Regions from separate parts of the Homo sapiens genome. Here region 1 is linked to region 2. The links are contacts of gene promoters, found by promoter capture Hi-C in blood cells and fetal thymus (Javierre and others, 2016). All regions are on one chromosome and are shown on one strand. Each heading gives the region's core, a stretch centred on a gene start or on the middle of the fragment in contact. The rest is flanking DNA. Distances are from core to core; before and after follow the strand shown.

Region 1 (6,733 bases), core at 1,562-4,061, 92 kb after region 2:
ATCATTATAACCTGGGAGGAGGAGGTTACAGTGACCCAAGGTGGCACCACTGCACTCCAGCCTGGGTGACAGAGCAAGACTGTCTCAAAAAAAAAAAATGTATACAAAGGTCTCACTATGTTGCCCAGGCTTGTCTTGAACTCCTGGCCCTGGCCCCAAACAATTCTCCCCACTCGGCCTCTCAAAGTGCTGGGATTATAGGCACAAGCCACTGGGCCCAGTTAAGATCCTATTTTCTTGAGCAAATTAAAGTTATCAGAAGAGAACTGCCAAAGGCTCGCACCCTCACCATCAACCTGCCACCTGCATTTGTGCCCATATACTCTGCTTTTCCTCCTATTCCAATGGCACTGTCTCTGCTGCTGTCTGCAGCCAGCCCCCCAGCCCCTCTGTGCTCTAGATCTCATCCCTTCAAGGACTCTTGTGCATCATCAATTGTGCCTCTCATCTGGGTCATTCTCATCTGTATGCAAACATGCTGGCATTTCTCCCATCAGAAAAACAAACAAATTTGAACTCCCTTTCCCCTCCAGTCACAGCCTTTCTCTACTCACCTTTACAGAGAAATTTTGTGTAAGCATTTATTTATATTCTGCCTTCAGTTCCTCTCCTTCCATTTCTTCCTTGAACCCACCCTAAATTACGGGTTTGTATCCAGCACTTCACCAAAACTTCTCTTGTAAAGGTCGTTTATGATCTCTGCATGGCAAAAGCTGTTTGGCTGCTACTCCCCAGTCTCCTTGGGCTCAGTCTTGGGTTCTCTTTATCTGCACTTACTCCTGGGTGATCTCACCCAGTCTATGGTCTTAAATATCTAATGACTTTTCAACCTCTAGTACCATATATAAGAATATATATATATATCTTTTTTTGGGTGGGGGGGAGGTTTTGTTTGTTTGTGTTTTTTTTGTTTGTTTGTTTGTTTGTTTTGAGACGGAGTTTCGCTCTCATTGCCCAGGCTGGAGTGCAATGGCACGATCTCAGCTCGCCGCAACCTCCGCCTCCTGGGTTCAAGCGATTCTCCTGCCTCAGCCTCCCGAGTAGCTGGGATTACAGGCATGCGCCACCACCCCGGCTAATTTTGTATTTTTAGTAGAGATGGGGTTTCTCCATGTTGGTCAGGCTGGTCTTGAACTGCTGACCTCAGGTGATCCGCCTGCCTCTGCCTCCCAAATTGCTGGGATTACTGGCGTGAGCCACCGCGCCCGGCTTGTTTGTGTTTTTTTAAATAGAGCTGAGGTCCCACTATGTTGCCCAGGCTGCTCTTGAACTCCTGAGGTCAAGTGATCCTCTGGCCTCAGCCTCCCAAAGTGCTAAGATTACAGGCGTGAGCCACCGCACCTGGCCTCCAAATTCTAATCTTCATATCTGAACTTTGATATCTAGTAAGCAATCATGTTTCTTCCAAATTTGTTCCCCCTGCAGGCTTACCCCTCTCACATAACTCCATGCCTTCACCCTTGACTCCACCCCACATCCAATCCTGTCCGTCTTTGCTTCAGATTATATTCAGAATCTCACCACTTTCTCACTGAGCTGCTGCAAAAGCAATCAATGCTGTCGTGGAAATTAGAAAAAGGGGTTGGGCACGGTAGCTCACACCTGTAATGCCAGCACTTTGGGAGGCCAAGGTGGGCAGATCACTTGAGGTTAGGAGTTCAAGACCAGCCTGGCCAACATGGTGAAACCCCGTCTCTACTAAAAATACAAAATTAGCCAGGCATGGTGGTGCATGCCTGTAATCCCAGCTACTTGGGAGTCTGAGGCAGGAAAATTGCGTGAACCCGGGAGGCGGAGGCTGCAATAAGCTGAGATCACACCACTGTATTCCAGCCTGGACAACAGAGCAAGACCCTGTCTCAAAAAAAAGAAAGAAAAAGAAAAAGGCACACCTTTTGGCAGATGCAACTGTGCACTTGTGCAGGGTACACCCTGCTTCTGCACGTGTGCCACCTTCCCACAGCCTATTGTCCACACTGTAGTCAGAGGGATCCTTTCAAATCAATCCCTGTTTCAATCATGTATTGCTGCTGGAAGGTCTGCTAGACTAGAAGGGCCAAAATGGTCTCCCTCACATGTCTGGCAGTCAGCTGAGCCTGGGGTGCTTGGTTTTCCTCCATATGGCCTCTCATCCTCTAGCAGGCAGGATTGGGGTTCCTCTCAACATGGTGGTCTCAGGGTTTCACAAGTGTGGTCTTTGGAAATCAGGCCCCACCTCAGATCTCCTGAATCAGAATCTGCATTTTAACGAGATCTGTAGGAGATTGTTATGCACAAGAAAGTTTGAGAAGCATTGCTTTAAAACACAAACCTAGGCCAGGCACAGTGGCACATGCCTGTAATCCCAACACTTTGGGAGGCCAAGGAGGGAGAACCATTTGAGCCCAGGAGTTTTGAGACGAGCCTGGGCAACATAGCAAGACCCCGTCTCTCCAAAAAATAACAAAATTAGCCAGGCGTGTTGGTGCACGCTTGTATTCCCAGCTACTCCAGAGGCTGAGGCAGGAGGATCGCTTGAGCCTGGGAGGTGGAGGCTGCAGTGAGCCATGATCATACCATGGCACTCCAGCCTGGAGGACAGACTGAGGCCCTGTCTCAAAAATAAGTAAGTGAATAAATAATAAAAAAAATCTGATCAGTCTCTGCCCAAAAACCTGTAAAAGCTTCCCACCTCACTCCCTGAAAAAGCCCTTACCTTGGCCTACAAGGCCTGTGTTGTACAGGCCTCCTTGACTTTCTCTGCTCCTCCTCTCCCCGTTACTCCCACTCAGGGGCCTCCATACTGTGCATTTAACAGGCCAAGCATGCCTGGCCCCGGGGTGTTTTTCAGTGCTGTGGACAGCCCTCCCATGAACTTGCTGTCCCCTCTGCCTGGAATGTTCCTCAATCAGCTCTTTGCATGACTGCCTCCCTTACCTTCTTTAGGTCTTCACTCAAGTCACCTCATCAGTAAAGCTTCCCCTGACAACCTTCTCTAAAACCACAACTCCAACCACATCCCAGCTTTCCATCCTCTTTTCTGCTTATTTTTCTACATAGCGCTAATTAACGTCTAATATAGCATATCTTTTACTTATTTAATTATTTATTTTTACTTTTTTTTTTAGATGGAGTCTCTCTCTGTCACCCAGGTTGGAGTGCAGTGGTGCAATCTCGGCTCACTGCAGCCTCCGCCTCCTGGGTTCAAGTGATTCTCCTGCCTCAGCCTCCTGAGTAGCTGGGACTACAGGCATACGCCACCACACCCAGCTAATTTTTGTATTTTTAGTAGAGACGGGGTTTTGCCATGTTGGTCAGGCTGGTGCCAAACTCCTGACCTCATGATCCACCCGCCTCGGCCTCCCAAAGTGCTGGGATTACAGGCATGAGCCACCGCGCCCGGCCTTATTTTATTTATTGTCTGTCTTCCCCCTCTAAAAATGTAAATTATATAAACAGAGGGTTTTTTAATTGTGGTAAAATTATACATAACATAAAATTGACCATTTTAACCATTTTCAAGTGTACAGTCCAGCAGTATTAAGTACATTCATGTTGTTATACCTTCACCAACACCACTATGCATCTCCAGAACTTTTTCATCCTCCCAAACTAAAACTCTATACTCATTAAACATTAACTCCCCATTTTCCCCTTCTCCAGCCCCTTACAATCTCCTGTAGTACTTTCTGTCTTATGAATTTGATTGCTCTAAGCACATCATATAAGTGGAATCATACAATGTTTGTCCTCTTTTTTTTTGTTTGAGACAGAGTCTCGCTCTTTCGCCTGGGCTGGAGTGCAGTGGCATGATCTTGGCTCACTGCAACCTCTACCTCCCGGGTTCAAGTGATTCTCCTGCCTTGGCCTCCCAAGTAGCTGGGATTACAGGCACCTGCCACCACGTCCGGCTAATTTTTGTATTTTTAGTAGAGACGGGGTTTTACCACGTTGGCCAGGCTGGAATGTTTGTCCTTTTGTGCCTGGCTTATTTCACTTAGTGTCATGTCCTCAAGGTTCATCCATGTTGTAGTATATGTCTGAATTCCTTCCTTTTTTGTTTTTTGTTTTTTTTTAGAATTTCCTTCCTCTTTAAGGGTATGTATATACCACATTTTGTTTATCCATTTATCTACTGTTGGACATTTGGGTTATTTCACCTTTTATTTAGCTATTGCATAATGCTCCTATGAACATGATATACAAGTATCAGTTGAAGTCCATTCATTTCTTTTGGGTATATACCTAGAAGTGGGATTGCGGGATCATACCCACCCAGCAATGAGATTGCTGGGTAATTCTGTTTAATCCTGGCAGGAACTTTAAAGGTAAGGGTTTTTGCCTGTGTTGTTCACTGATAGAAGCCCAGAGCCTGGCACAGAGTACACACTCAGTAAATTCTTGTTGAACTAACTGTTTAATTTCCCTGTCTAGGAACCTGGAATCTCAGTCTAAGAAGGCTGTGCAGCTTATCTGACCCAGCTTGCTCTCAGTAGTCCCATTCTGACTTCTAATGCTTGCTGTTTCGAGTTCAAAGCCCCCCAAACAGGCCGTAATAGTGTGTTCTAGAACTTTGCTGGGGAGTCACATCAAGCTCACCATTGCTTTATGGACTCCACCTTCCTTCCATGGCCCCTTCAGGTTCCCGACCCCTTTCTCTTTCTCAGAAGCTCCTATGTCACCAACAGAAATCCCATTTACAAGTTCTTGCAGTGCCTTTGGCTGTCATATCTGGTCCCTTTTAGATTAGTCTGGTGCTTGCTGGGTTTCTTTGCTTCTCTTGAGCTCACTTCCCCCATGTCCCCAAAGGCTCCACTGCTCCTTAGTGCAAAAAAATGATTCTCTTTGATAGGAAACAGAGGTGAAAAGGCCTGAGGGAATTCTGCTTTCTCTGTTACCTCCAACCTGACCCCTCAGGCCCAAAGAAGCCTAGCTTTTTCTTTGTTCTTGTTGCAAATATAATGCTTTTTAAATTGTCCTTCGGGGGGCGATGTGGCTCACGCCTGTAATCCCAACACTTTGGGAGGCTGAGGAGGGCGGATCACCTGAGGTCAGGAGTCTGAGACCAGCCTGGCCAACATGGCAAAACTGTCTCTACTAAAAAATACAAAAATTAGCCGGGTGTGGTGGCACATGCCTGTAATTCCAGCTACTTGGGAGGCTGAGGCAGGAGAATTGCTTGAACCCAGGGGGCGGAGGTTGCAGTGAGCCGAGATGAAGCCACTGCACTCCAGCCTGGGTGACACAGTGAGACTTGGCCTCAAAAATAATAATAATAGGCCGGGCACAGTGGCTCATACCTGTAATCCCAGCACTTTGGGAGGCCGAGGCGGGCAGATCACGAGGTCAGGAGATCAAGACCATCCTGGCTAATATGGTGAAACCCCGTCTCTACTAAAAAATACAAAAAATTAGCCGGGCGTGGTGACATGCGCCTGTAGTCCCAGCTACTCGGGAGGCTGAGGCAGGAGAATCGCTAGAACCTGGGAGACAGAGGTTGCAGTGAGCCAACATCGCGCCACTGCACTCCAGCCTGGGTGACAGAGCGAGACTCTGTCTGGAAAAAAAAAAAAAAATCTGATGTAGAGTCTGCCTTCTTGTCATCGTTTAAATATTGAGGTAAATTTCTTTGCACCTTTCTTCATCTGCACTTTCTGCTTCACCAGATGGCTTCATATAAGTGGAAACTGACCAATAGCTGCATCGCAGCAAGGCATTCTGTAGAATTTTTTTCTTAAGGTCTTCCTGTATGGCTAAAATATTCTCTAGTTGTGAGAAAGCTTGCTTCTGATCATGTTAAACATTAAAGCTAAAGAGGGTGGGGAGTCCTCTGAACCTCTTTTGGTTCTAGGGGCTGCTCAATTTAAAAAAATTAAAGAATAGATAACTGAAAATAAACTAAAAATAAAGAAGTCACATATAAACCAACATGACTTCTGCATTACACTGACATCGTTCCCTTAAGTTACCTATCACCAGTGAGCCAGTTCATGTTAAAGAAGCACTTTGTAGCACAACTGTCTGTATTTAATTGTGATCATCTGGTTTCCTCCCACCTTTATTCTTTTTTTTTTTTTTTCTGAAACAGGGTCTCACTCTGTCACCCAGACTAGAGTACAGTGGCACAATCACAGCTCACTGCAGCCTGGACCTCCTGGGCTCCAGTGATCCTCTCACCTCAAGTTTACCGAGTAGCTGGGACTACAGGTGTGTGCCACCATGTCTGGCTAACTTTTTTTTTTTTTTTTTTTTTGTAGAGATGGGAGTCTGGCTATGTTGCCCAGGCTGGTCTCCAACTCCTGGGCTCAAGCGATCCACCTGCCTTGGCCTCCCAAGGTGCTGGAATTACAGGCGTGAGCCACTGCACCCAGCCTCCTCCATATATTATTTTTAAAAAACAAATAGAGATGGTGTCTTGCTATATTGTCCAGATTAGTCTCAAACTCCTGGCCTCAAGCAATCCTCCTGCCTCCGCCTCCCAAAGTGTTGGGATTACAGGCGTGAGCTACCACACTAAACCTAATGTACAAAGTAAGTTACTGTTGATGATTGAACACAAATTACTCATCTTCAAGCTTCTGATATACATTAATCTTCTCAATGCTTTGTACATCCTAAATTCTCAAAATGTTTAAAGAAAGCAAAACTAGGAACAACTGTATAGAACTCTAGATCCATGGTAGGAAGATGGATTGCAGCCCTGGGCGATTTGGGGAGGAAAGTGCATGGTGAAATGTGTGAAGTCATGACCAGG
Region 2 (6,608 bases), core at 3,609-6,108:
AGACCTCGGAAGATGAGTCCTCAGATGGGAAGGGCTCAATAAGCAGAGTTGTTACACAGGCAGCAGCCTGGCAGGAGCAAAGCCACAGAGGACATGTGGCCCCAGTGGGTCTGAGAAACCCAGAGGACATTGGGGTGAGGGAGTGACTGGTGTAGAAGCTGGAAGATCAGAGTTACATCATGAATTTCAGGGGCCCTAGGCACTTTAGCCTTCACGGAGCTCTTGCTCCATTCAAAAAAAAATTAATGTTATGACTATGTTGGTATAAAGATGAATGTAATCCAGGCTGATTGGATTTACTTTATTTCTTCTGGTTTTAAAAGAAGCTAAAACATTTCTATGGGCCCTGGGCACTGCACCTGCTGTGCCTACTGGGTAACTCAGCCCCGTACAAGAGTGGGTTGGGGCCCAGTTGAGAGAGGCTTTGGTAGGTCCGGTAAGCCACAGGGAGTCGTGGAGCCTAACCCTAGCCTTATTCTTGGTTGCATTAAATATCCAAACGTGGATCCCAGTATCCCTCATACTGTCTATGGTATCACCCAACAGCTCCCCAGCCTAATCATATGATGTAGCCCAACCAAGGTGCCCAGCTGTGTCAAGAAGGTTCCACCTGCCCCCAAATAGCATAGCACTTCCCAGGCACAGTCAGCCAAGAGCTACTCGCAGGGAGTGGGAGATGCAGCAGGAGGGAGACACAGGCTGTGTCTAGAGAGGAGGTCTGGGTTCAGGGATGAGGGGAGGACTAGGGAAGGGAGGTGGTGGAGAAGAGGGAGAAGGCACTGATGGGAGTGGTGGGAAGGCTCAAGAAACTAGCTTTGGCCAGGCACCAATGTCTGACAACTGTAATCCCAGCACTTTCAGAAGCCGAGGCGGGCAGATCACTTGAGGTCAGGAGTTCAAGACCAGCCTGGCCAACATGGCGAAACCCAGTCTGTACTAAAAATACAAAAGTTAGCCAGACGTGGTGGCAGGCGTCTGTAATCCCAGCTACTCGGGAGGCTGAGGCACAAGAATCGCTTGAGCCTGGGAGGCAGAGGTTGCAGTGAGCTGAGATTGTGTTTCAGCCTGGGTGACCGAGTGAGACTCTGTCTCAAAAAAACAAACAAACAAACAAGAAACTAGCTTCTTCATGGCATTTTCCTTAGTCAAGCCTGGCCTGGCCCTAACAACACCCGTATTCTTCCTTAAAACCCACCCCTCTGACCACTCTCAGCTAACCTAAGGCCCCTACCTCTTAAAACCCTGCTGCTAGCCCTGTGCTACTATCTCCCGGCTCTAGGAGTCTCTCACTCTAGCATTAAAGAGCTAGGCCTCTCTGGGGATCTGTTTCCCACATGAAGAGTACTGGGGCCATTGCCACAAATAGCTAGATGTCCCAGAATTTATTCTTATTTTTAATTACCAAAGTAATACTGTGCCAGCCTGGCCAACATATCGAAACCCCGTCTTTACTAAAAATACAAAAATTAGCTGGGCGTGGTGGTGGGCACCTGTAATCCCAGCTACTCGCAAGGTTGAGGCAGGAGAATCGCTTGAACCTGGGAGGTGGAGGTTGCAGTGAGCCAAGATTGTGCCACTGCACTTCAGCCTGGGCAACACAGAGAGACTCCATTTTGTTTTGTTTTGTTTTTTTTAAAGTAATATTGTGGAGAAAAGTCAAGTGATCTAGAAAAGTGAGGTTTAAAAAAGTGAAATTTGCTACTTGGGAGGCTCAGGTGGGAGGATTGCTGGAGCCCAGAAAGTCAAGGCTGCAGTAATTTGTGATCGTGCCACTGCACACCAGCCTGGGTGACAGAGAGAGACTCTGTTTCAAAAAAATAATAAAGCTATATAGTATTCCATAGCAGGGTTAAACCCAATTTATTCAGTCTTCCTCTACTGATGAATACTTAGCTTTTTTCCAATTTTGCAACAAGCTTTGTGACAAACTATACTGTAACCCACAACCTCGAACATTTATTTTTCTGCCTGTTTTTTTGTTTTGTTTTGTTTTGAGACTGGGTCTTGTTTTGTCACCCAGGCTGGAGTGCAGTGACACAATCATGGCTCACTGCAGCCTCGACCTCCCATGCTCAAGGGATCCTCCCACCTCAGCCTCCCAAGTAATGGGACTACAGGCATGCGCCACCATGTTTTTTTCATGTTTTGTAGAGACAAGGTCTCATTATGTTGCCCAGGCTGATACCAAACTTCTGGCCTCAAGCAGTCCTCCCGCCTTGGCTTCCCAAATTGCTGAGATTACAAACATGAGCCACCATGCCCGACCAGTGTTTATCTCAAAAGAATTCATTCCTAGAATTGGTATGCAATGTCAGAAGAAATGCAATGCCTCAAAATTTAAGTCATTGTCTGGCTGGGCGGGTGGCTCATGCCTGCAATCCCAGTACTTGGGGAGGCTGAGGTGGGTGAATCACTTGAGCTCAGGAGTTTGAGACTAGCTTGGGCAACATGGTGAAACCTCGTCTCTACAAAAAATACAAAAATTAGCTGGGCATGGTGGCTGGCACCTGTAGTCCCAGCTACTTGAGGGGCTGAGGTGGGAGGATCGCTTGAGCCCAGAAGATGGAGGTTGCAGTGAGTTGAGATCATGCCACTGCACTCTAGCATGGGCAACAGAATGAGACCCTGTCTTAAAAAAAGAAAAAATTTAAGCCATTGTCTATGCCTAACCCTAAGAGTAAGATTTTTTTTTTTTTTTTTTTGAGATGGAGTCTTGCTCTGTTGCCCAGGCTGGAGTGCAGTGGCACAATCTCGGCTCACTGCAACCTCCACCTCCAGGGTTCAAGCAACTCTCCCTGCCACAGCTTCCCAAGGAGCTGGGATTACAGCTCCCAAGCACAGGGACTACACCACAACGCCTGGCTAATTTTTGTATTTTCAGTAGAGACGGGATTTCACCATGTTGGCCAGGCTGGTCTGGAACTCCTGACCTCAGGTGATCTGGCCCTGCTGTGATGTAAAGAGGTAACCTTCAGGAGGCCCTCAAGCCTCCTCTTGGACTCCTCATCCTGGGGCTAGAGGCCAGAGGAAGCAGGGAAGCGGGAGGAGAATGACCAAAGAGGCCCCGGGTTCCCTAGCGCAGCTCACCCCTCTTCCCTGAGTGTGCCAGAATGCTGGAGGGCAGGCTGGAGAGCAAGCTCTTCAGGTTATCTGAGCATCAAAGTGCAACTCCTCTGAACAGCTCTAGACACTGAAAAAGTGACTGTGCAGATTCCTTCAAAGAGCATTTTCCAGGTTTCTCCCACCCCTGCAGCCATGAAGCTTGGATTCTGGAGTGTTTAGGCAACAAAAGCCCTGGGTGGGCAGGTGATGGTCCTGCTTCTGTCTAGGTTCCTGGCTTCTCCCTGCCTAATTCCAAACCCCATGCGTTGCTACCATGACTGCTGCACCCACAGTCCTCTGCTCTGGAGCCTGCAGTGGCTCTGATCATTTTGTGGCCAACCCAAGGGTCCTCTGCCCACCTCAAGGCACATTGCAACTCTTTTCTCTCTCTATTTATTTATTTATTTATTTATTTATTTATTTATTTATTTATTTATTTTGAGACAGAGTCTTGCTCTGTCTCCAGGCTGGAGTGCAGCAACCTCCGCTTCCCAGGTTGAAGCGATTCTCCTGCCTCAGCCTCCAGATTAGCTGGGACTGCAGAAGCGCACCACCATGCCCAGCTAATTTTTGTATTTTGTTTTTGTTTTTTTTTAGATGGAGTCTCGCTCTGTCGCCCAGGTTGGAGTGCAGTGGCGCGATCTCGGCTCACTGCAAGCTCCGCCTCCCGGGCTCACGCCATTCTCCTGCCTGCGCCTCCCGAGGAGCTGGGACTACAGGCGCCTGCCACCACGCCCAGCTAATTTTTTGTATTTTTTTAGTAGAGACGGGGTTTCACTGTGTTAGCCAGAGTAGTCTCAATCTCCTGACCTCGTGATCCGCCCGCCTCCGACTCCCAAAGTGCTGGGATTACAGGCATGAGCCACCGCGCCCGGCCAATTTTTGTATTTTTAGTAGACGGGGTTTCGCCATGTTGGCCAGGATGGTCTCGATCTCTTGATCTTGTGATCCGCCCGCCTCAGCCTCCCAAAGTGCTGGGATTACAGGCGTAAACCACCGCGCCCGGCCGCAACTCCCTTCTCTCTCCTCTACGAACTGTGATGAACAAAGCCTTTCATCTCCTGCAGGAACCTCGGCTCCTACCCTCGTTCTCCCTCTGCCCTCCACCCTCCATCTACCCTCATAGCCCTCAGACTGTCTTCACATCCCAAGGATCCCCTCCTCTACCCTGCCTCATATTCTCCTCTGGGAGCCCCTTCTTGGCTCTCCATCTGAGAGGGCCCAAGCCTGTTTCTCAGTACTTTCCTCCCCCAGAATTATCTCCACTGCATCTATTTGGCTTTTGTGTCTGCATTTACACCTATGCCTGCATCCTGGGGGCATGTGCCATCTCCCTCTTTGGGCAGAGAGAGTTGCTGTGTCTTCCTTGCCCTTGCTAACCACTCCCCCCTCTTCCACTATCCCCCTGGCCTCCAGCTGCTAGTGCACAGGGCAAGTCTCTGCATTTATGGTGCCACTGAGGACAACGAGAGAGTGATGGATGACAAGGGGTGCTCCCTTAGAGAAAAACCAGCCCTGGTTCTCCATCTTATTTCTGAAAAAGAGTTTGTTGGATGCTTTTCAATTAAAAGCAGATGATTAATTCAGCCCTGGCCTTGTTCTGTCTTTGAATAACAGATACATTAGTTTACTTGAAAAGAAATATTTTCATTTGTATTTCCATGTCACTTGTGATTTTCCCTGCCTTGCACCCTCAGCCCTGCCAGTTGGCAAGAAGACAGTCAGCTTTGCTGCTAAGAGGAGTATAAAGAGGGCTTGGTCCAAGCAAGAAGGCAGTGGTCTACTCCATCGGCAACATGCTGGTCCTTTATGGTAAGTGGATATGGTCCAGTCGCAACCCTGGTCCTTTATGGTAAGTGGATCATGTGGCCTGAGGTCTATAGGGAGGGGGACTTGGGCAGGAAGGTCAGCAAATTTTCCCTAAGTCCAGGCCAGCACCCTGTCCCAGGGCAGGTGGGACGCTCTGCCTGCAGAGCGTCCTTTACTCTCCTGGAGGCCAAGATAGAAAAGGTCAGGGCCACTGGCTATTCAGGCCCCTCTGGGTGGCAGGTCCCTGGGCCACAAAGCAGAGAGAAGCCCCATCTGGTAGTGGGGTGGGTCCCTGGGCTTCCCCACCACCCCCATTGACAGGAGGACTTCCTCAGCAGGTGCCTGGCTGGGGTGTGCACTGCAGGCCCTGAACCCTGGAGAATCTTGCCAAAGCATTAGGGGGCTGGTGGGGGTCAAAGAGTGGGGGGGGGTCTCTTCAGGCCAAAGGGTGATCTTGAGCAAAGAGGAGACCACAAGGAGCCTCTGGGGCCTAGCCTGGTGGTTTGAGAGAGGTCCTTCATAGCATGCCGGAGTTCTGGGAACACCTGGGGGAAACAGAAGGCACCCAGGCACCCCTGTTTTCAAAAGGGGCTCAGAGAACTCACAGCTGGGCCCCTCATTCGTTAGAGAGGAACTGTGAATTTGCAGACAAGGCTAACATTCCTCAAAGCACAATCGCCACCCCCCACCCCTACCCCTGGCTGACCCCATGCTTAGTCATCACTCACTTTTCTTCTGCCCCACAAAGGACACAGCACCCAGGACCTTCCGGAAACCAATGCCCGCGTAGTCGGAGGGACTGAGGCCGGGAGGAATTCCTGGCCCTCTCAGGTGGGTGTTCCTTCCCAGCCCCAGACTTCCACCCAAATAAGAGCTCAGTGCATGACATAAGGTATCATGTGTATTTGTGCATGTCCCTATCAACAAGCAGCTCTCCAATTGTCTAGGTTCTCGATTTTAAAGATGGATGGGATCAGGCTTAGGTGGTTTTCTAAATGCAAAAGGCTTGGAGGAGGGGATTTATACACCAACCACAGTCCCTCTTCAAGGCACACACCCAAACACAAGATACATTTATATTCTCAGCGACAGCACTTGTGCCACGCAAGAAAGACTGGGTGCCAGACAGTCACCTTGGACTCCACATACCTTGAAACTCACACGCACACCACTCCACACTGTGTGTGTCACAATGCTTGCACGCATGTGCGCGCACACACACACACACACACGTACAGCATGCTGCTTAGTTGGCTATTTAGAGTTTCCACTTTGCTAACAGGGCAGCTGGGCCCTGATTTAAGTGATCTAAATATGTAAACCTGGCAAATTAACTGATGAAGATCCACACTTTGAGAAGATATCACTGCAATCAGAGTTTTAGCTTATAAAAGTCTGAGCCCCAGTTTTCAGGAGTAGAGCTATTACATAACATGAGGTGCTAGAAGAAGAGACATGAACTGATAAAAACAAACATCCTATTGGTATTTTTTTTTTTTTGAGATGGAGTTTTGCTCTCATTGCCCAGGCTAGAGTGCAATGGCATGATCTCGGCTCACTGCAAACTCTGCCTCCTGGGTTCAAGCAGTTCTCCTGCGTCAGCCTCCTGAGTAGCTGGGATTACAGGCGCCTGTCACCATGCCCAGCTAATTTTTGTATTTTTAGTAGAGACGGGGTTTCACCATGTTGGCCAGGCT

What was found. The method cuts DNA at HindIII sites, captures the fragments that hold promoters and counts their contacts. A CHiCAGO score of 5 or more calls a contact.
Region 1: a contact is called between a fragment that was not itself captured here and the fragment with the promoter of CELA1 in region 2, in 6 of 17 cell types (megakaryocytes, M2 macrophages, non-activated CD4 T cells and 3 more). The highest score is 6.6, in megakaryocytes.

The regions. Positions count from the first base shown.
Region 1 is chr12:51,250,918-51,257,650 of GRCh38, reverse strand. All of the region lies in intron 2 of SMAGP (small cell adhesion glycoprotein), which reads left to right. Among named protein-coding and RNA genes, the nearest start is that of DAZAP2, 15 kb to the right of the region's middle. The HindIII fragment of the contact is 292 bases long and covers 2,666-2,957 here.
Region 2 is chr12:51,344,929-51,351,536 of GRCh38, reverse strand. CELA1 (chymotrypsin like elastase 1) reads left to right here and starts at 4,858. Exons shown (of 8, transcript NM_001971.6): 1 at 4,858-4,914; 2 at 5,660-5,742. The coding sequence starts at 4,899. GALNT6 (polypeptide N-acetylgalactosaminyltransferase 6) reads left to right here. Exons shown (of 12, transcript NM_007210.4): 12 at 1-285. The HindIII fragment of the contact is 4,543 bases long and covers 3,264-6,608 here.